Regions from separate parts of the Homo sapiens genome. Here region 1 is linked to region 2. The links are contacts of gene promoters, found by promoter capture Hi-C in blood cells and fetal thymus (Javierre and others, 2016). All regions are on one chromosome and are shown on one strand. The core of a region is centred on a gene start or on the middle of the fragment in contact, and the rest is flanking DNA. Distances in the headings are between cores, read along the strand shown. Region 1 has its middle 28 kb from the start of XCL1. Region 2 holds the start of F5 (coagulation factor V).

The links. The method cuts DNA at HindIII sites, captures the fragments that hold promoters and counts their contacts. A CHiCAGO score of 5 or more calls a contact.
Region 1: a contact is called between a fragment that was not itself captured here and the fragment with the promoter of F5 in region 2, in 5 of 17 cell types (total CD8 T cells, fetal thymus, total CD4 T cells and 2 more). The highest score is 7.3, in total CD8 T cells.

The regions. Positions count from the first base shown.
Region 1 is chr1:168,602,783-168,605,765 of GRCh38, reverse strand. No RefSeq gene overlaps it. Among named protein-coding and RNA genes, the nearest start is that of XCL1, 28 kb to the right of the region's middle. The HindIII fragment of the contact is 2,346 bases long and covers 89-2,434 here.
Region 2 is chr1:169,585,018-169,588,154 of GRCh38, reverse strand. F5 (coagulation factor V) reads left to right here and starts at 1,674. Exons shown (of 25, transcript NM_000130.5): 1 at 1,674-1,926. The coding sequence starts at 1,769. RefSeq lists enhancers at 1,199-1,698, 1,699-2,200. The HindIII fragment of the contact is 11,391 bases long and covers 1-3,137 here.

The DNA of each region.
Region 1 (2,983 bases), core at 12-2,511, 980 kb after region 2:
AAGTGGTTATGAGTGATAAGAAACACTTCTGGGATTCATTGCCCAAGATATACCTGTTATTTATTTAAGGTTGCTAGTCAATAAAGCTTATATCACCATCTTTATTCATCTCACCAGTAACTTATTAAATTATATTACCTTAATTTTTTGCTGTTGTGCATTTTATGAGATGTACAAGATACATATAGTACCATGGTGAAATCCTGCCTCTGTAAACTGCCCTAAGCCCACTGATGTATATCTCCATTAAAGTTCCCTGGAATGGCCAAACTAGGTTTTTTAATCTGAATAATGGAGGTTATATTCATTGTCTTCATTTCCCTCTTTCTCAGTTTCTTTGCTTCCTTGTGTTTTAGTACAGTTTCATCCTTCTTTTGTCAAGGAAAAGATATGAAACAAATCTTCAGGCTCACACTTACCAGCTGCATTTGAGTGTTTATTCTCAGATTCATTAATGGCCAGACAGAGAGGCTGGCTAGGAAAGAAAGTAAAGTATGAGAAACTTCAGCCACTTGAAGTCCAAAATGAATGTGAAGCATCTCTGAAACTATAATCTGTGTCAAAGGAAAATCAGACTATAATTAAAAGGAAGAAAGAAATAGGCCATTATCCACAACATTTTGTTTACCATGTAAAAGAGGAACACAGGCTTTCCAGGAAATAAGTAAATTGTGGGTAATTTAAGAACAGACATCATATCTTATATACCTCCAGGTGAGGGACTTCTGTTTGTCTCTTTAGATCTGTTCTTTACTTAACTCCTCTTATTTTTAGCTGGAAAACAATTACATAGAATAAAGACTGAATTTCCCATACTTTCTTGCAGCTGAACTTACCTATATACTTGGGGTTATGCATACAGCTTCTAGAAAATGTCTTTTGAAGGAAGAAACCCATCTTTTTCTTCCCTTTTCTTCTTCTTGCTGGATGGAAAGTGGATGCAAATTTGAGAATTAAAAATGAAAAGAACCTGGGTTCCAGGGATCTCATACCAGCCTTGGCCTTGTTAACTACTGATTTTGTCCCTAGAGGACAGAGAAAAAAAAAACCTATCTAGTTTAAGCCACTCTTATTTTGGCTTTTTGGTCACTTGCAGTTAAACCTACTCCTTAGCAATACACCCCTTCAACCTCTGGAAGAATACCTTTCAATCAATCAACAGCTGCAATGATCACAGTTACAATGGACTAAACAGATATGTTGGGGCTGTTGCCGTCCTCACATTTTTGGAAGGCTCAGTGCTTTGGGTCTCAAGAATATAGCAGAGAGAATTTGGGCATGATTTATTTTAATATGGTGAGCAGAACATCCTGAGGGAAACACACACCCTTATATACATATACATGCACACACATATAAATATATATATGCATGCACATACACATAAATATAATGTCTCCATAGATTGATAAAATACCATTCAGTGGAGAGTGCAGTGACCAGGGTACAAATACAGGCACTGTCACTGGATGGTGGAAGCATAAATTGGTGTGATCTTTCGGGAAGAAATTTGCCAATATGTATCACAGCCTTCTCTAAGGAGAGAATGTGAACAAAGAGTGATGGCCAAAATTTTCATTGTAGCAGTAGATTATACAGAAAGTTTCTCAACCTAAGGGTTCAAACAATAAATGCATGTGTTGTGAAGTGTCAGAGCTGGCAGTTAACTGGAGTTTCTTTCCCATGAGTTGATTTTCATCAAGGAAAGAATTTCTCAGAGGTTGGGCATCAAGCGATAGAGAGGAGTAGATGGCAGACAATGAGACATCTGCCTCCGACCAGGCCCATAGGTCAGTCTAGCCACAAGGGACAGAGAATCACCCTCAGACACTAAAGAAGCTGTTTCCATAAATGAGACACAGAGGCCTGAAAACTCTGTTTAGTACTCAGGGGAGAAGTTAGAAGACTTAGTGCAGAGCATTCTTCACTTGGTGAAGAATCTTGGTTGGGTTCAGCACAGACGGATGATGTGCCTTGGCAACCTGAGGGTCTGCAGCTTTGGGAAGATAAGGAGACCTAGCCTAGGGAGGCAAGCCAGCATCACCATGCCAGGTGCCAGCATCTGTAGTAGTGGGGAGGTGCTGCCCTCAAGCGGCTGTTTGGACAGTAAGCATCAGCAGGGGGCCAGGAGTGGAAGAGCAGAACATTTGTGAGCTCACCTGGGATATATCTTAACCACACACTCCAATTTCAGCTCTGCCTGGGTCATATGCCCACCTGCATATTCAGTTCTCCCTGGGAGAACTGAAATTGGGTGTGTGGCTAAAATATATATGCAGGTGGGCATATGAGCCAGTGAAGTGTGTAGCCACAAGCTAGGAAACAACCTAAATGCATAATGATAGAAAAAATCAGGTAAATTATGCTTTGTCTCATAACCTGTGAGCCTGATATTATCTGTGGATGTTCAGTATCCTTTCTGTCCTTCTAAGCTTTCCCCTTGTAAAACAGGGCCTGAAAGCATGGAAATCACGTTTCTCAAGTGCCTGTTTGAATATCATTGGGGTGGCACTTTGTGAAGTTTGCAAAGCAGAAGAAAAAGATGGGCCATTGCTTCCAGTAAAGATCTAGGCACGCGTCTGGGTATCAGCAAATGGCTGATGTGGGGCTTTGTCAGCAGCTCCCAGATGCTGCAAGCAGCTAAGCTCAGTAGTAGTGATATCACTGCAATATTTGTGTTTCTAGATCTAGAGCCATCCTGATCATTGTTTTCTTCCAATGGGAGGCATATATAAAGGTTGTATAAGCCTTATTCCCTACGTCAGCTTCCTTTATAGTGAAAAAAACTTAGAGTGGCTTCCATTTTCAGAACCAAAACTTAACTGATACAGCAGAGCCTGTTGGTTAAGGACCTGAACTCTGGTATGATTTAGACTTGGTTCAATCCCAAGATCTGTTTTAAGTGAGTGAAACCTTGAACAAATTCCCTCACCAAACTTCCCAGTTTCTTCATCTGCAAAATGGGTTCACGAACATGCCTACC
Region 2 (3,137 bases), core at 425-2,924:
TAGGGAGACAATAGATACCTGCATGGAATAACAAAAGGTAATTAACATGATTATATAATTTGAATAGTGTTGTAATAGTTCATAAAATGGAAAAGCCAATTTGAGCCCAGAATCTGGGAGATAGGCAGAACTCTGGACTGTAAAGAATGGCCCAGCAAAGAGGAAGAAAATGGGCATTCTAAGTTGGTGCAATAATATCAGCACAGGAGAAAAGACAGAATATTGGGGGGAGTGGGGAGGGAGGAAGAGGCTGTTGATGAGCCTGATATCATTAACAGAGACCTCATGTGAGGTGCCAGATTACAATTTATTGAATGTACTGAATGCATAAAGCATAAGACAGAAACCTGGAGCCATGCAGATACAGGGAACCCAGGACAAGTCATTATGATGCCTCAGACAATATAATTCGCAGATTCTCTATCAATAGCAAAGTAAGATTTAAGGTGCTGTGAAACAGTCAGATCCTTCAAGAAAAACAAGAATACAAGGGGTCCTGGAGACAGGAAAATATGATCATAATAATAAATTTGTGATTCCTTCTTTCTCTCTTTTTCTCTTTCTTTCTTTTTCTTTCTTTCTTTTTTTTTTTTGATGGAGTTTTGCTCTCGTTGCCCAGGCTGGAGTAAAATGGCATGATATCAGCTCACTGCAAACTCCACCTTCCAGGTTCAAGCAATTCTCTTGCCTCAATCTCTCGAGTAGGTGGGATTACAGGTGTCCACCACAACGCCCGGCTAATTTTTTATATTTTTAGTAGAGAAGGGTTTCACCATGTTGGCCAGGCTGGTCTTGAACTCCTGACCTCAGGTGATTCACCCGCCTTGGCCTCCCAAAGTACTGGGATTACAGGCGTGAGCCACTGCGCCTAGCCTCTGTGTGTTAAGTGCTGGAACTATAGTTTACAGTAGCATTTTATCCTCCCAACATACCCTATCAGGAAAAATTATTATTGTCATCCTTATTTCACAGATGTCAAAACTGAACAGAGAGGTACAGTAACTTGCCCAAGACAACACAGCTAGTAAGTGAAACTGAAATCTGGACAACTGATTTTTTTCAGCCAAGCTCTTCAAGCCCGCTGCTATGCTGCAGCTTAGCTGGCGACAGGCCCTTATCAAGGCAGAACTGTGCCTTGATAGAGGCCAGGAAGGCGATTCAGAGCAGTAGGCCTTGTCCATGTGTTTGTTCCCTGCTTCTTCACCACTTGAAAATAGTGTTTCAGTGCCCAGTAACAGGGCACAATACTCTTTTCCTCAGATTAAAAGGGGAGCCATCTGCTTAAGGTGGTTGGGTGCCACTGCACTGCACAGAAGGTTCTCCAAGTGTGAGCTTGGACCCAGGCAGGCCTCAGGTCAGTGGTAACGGACGACTGCTTCCGTGGTGTTGGCAGGTGGAAATGGAGGGATACAGCTTTGTCCGGCTCATGAATCCCTGGGCATTGTCCCGCCTGCTAGAGCCTCTGATCTCTGCCCCTTCTTCACCTGCAGTAAAACAGTCACTAGTTTGGTTGCTCTCCCTAATACCTCTGGTCACTGGGAGCTGTGATCTCACCAAACCCCTGCCAGGAAAAGCCCCAGAAAAAGCGGAGGGAGTGAGAGCCAGAGGCTGCTGCTGCCGTTTGCAAGAACTGCAGGGGAGGAGGACGCTGCCACCCACAGCCTCTAGAGCTCATTGCAGCTGGGACAGCCCGGAGTGTGGTTAGCAGCTCGGCAAGCGCTGCCCAGGTCCTGGGGTGGTGGCAGCCAGCGGGAGCAGGAAAGGAAGCATGTTCCCAGGCTGCCCACGCCTCTGGGTCCTGGTGGTCTTGGGCACCAGCTGGGTAGGCTGGGGGAGCCAAGGGACAGAAGCGGCACAGCTAAGGCAGTTCTACGTGGCTGCTCAGGGCATCAGTTGGAGCTACCGACCTGAGCCCACAAACTCAAGGTAACTCAGGTGTGGAGTCCGGGTGGGCTTCTCTAGAGAGGAAAATCTATTTCTTTTAGAGAACATTCCCTTTGCAATGTCATGGCTTTTTTTTTTTTTAACTTCAGGTAAGTAAATATAACTAATAGGAGAGTATACTGAATTAAATAAACTGGGCAAATGCTAATTTTGCATCCAACAATGTAGTTTATCATTCTGAGGGTTTAGAAAGCACCCTATTTGATTGGTTAGATGCTACCTTCTTTTCAAGTTTATTTTCAATACAGTTTTGTTAGTATGTTTGTGTTGGCTTATATATTGGTTAATTCAAAGGCACCAGGCACTTGCTCCCTCATTAGCCCTTCCTGCAAACTCCTGTTCCAGATTTTTAGTTGTATAGTATTTTTATGAGACTCCTAGTTACATATTATTTATTCCATTGTCTACATAGCTTCATCTTCTAAAACTAAAAATGAACACCTTGTGCTTTTTGTCATATAATTTTATTGCTGCCTTATAAATGACTTTCAAAATATCATCAGTTCTTGTATGTTTTTGTACTTTCACCTTTTTTCTGCTTCATATTTGACTTATTTATCCTATTGAATGTGACTCTTCATTTTTTTTTCTCTCTGTTCATCATGTCCTGGGATATGGTTTACCTTGGCTACTTAAAGGCATATGTAACTGAGAGGAGGTTTAATTCAGATAAAATACTATCCTTGAGTTGCAAACTATTTTTTCTAATTGAAATGTTAAAAATAAGACTTCTCAGAAATTAACTAAATCATACAGTCTATTCAATATTTCCAGTTAGTTATTTTTTAAATGGTAAACCTGCTAGTGTGACTCACTTTTTTTCCTTACATCACACTTCATTATGAAAGATGTGTTCCTCTTTTACAATTACAAAACCAAAGTAATCTGCCAAAAAATAATGTAATATTTTGAGATCTTTTAGTGTATAATATTAACCTTTTTAAAACTCTCATTGTAACTGGGTTATTTTGGAGGGTATTACATACCATCTTGGTCTTATAATAAGAAGAGATCCCTCCTTCTCAAAAATAATCATTTTAAATATCGTACTTCAAAGTGATAATCTAGGTCACACCCACACCCTTTGGGAACTGCCGTAAGCTAAAACCCCAAGGAAAATAACAGTCCTTCTAACACTAATCTTGCCTGCTCATGAGTAGAATGCAGACTTGGTTGTTGGCTTTCTTGTAGCA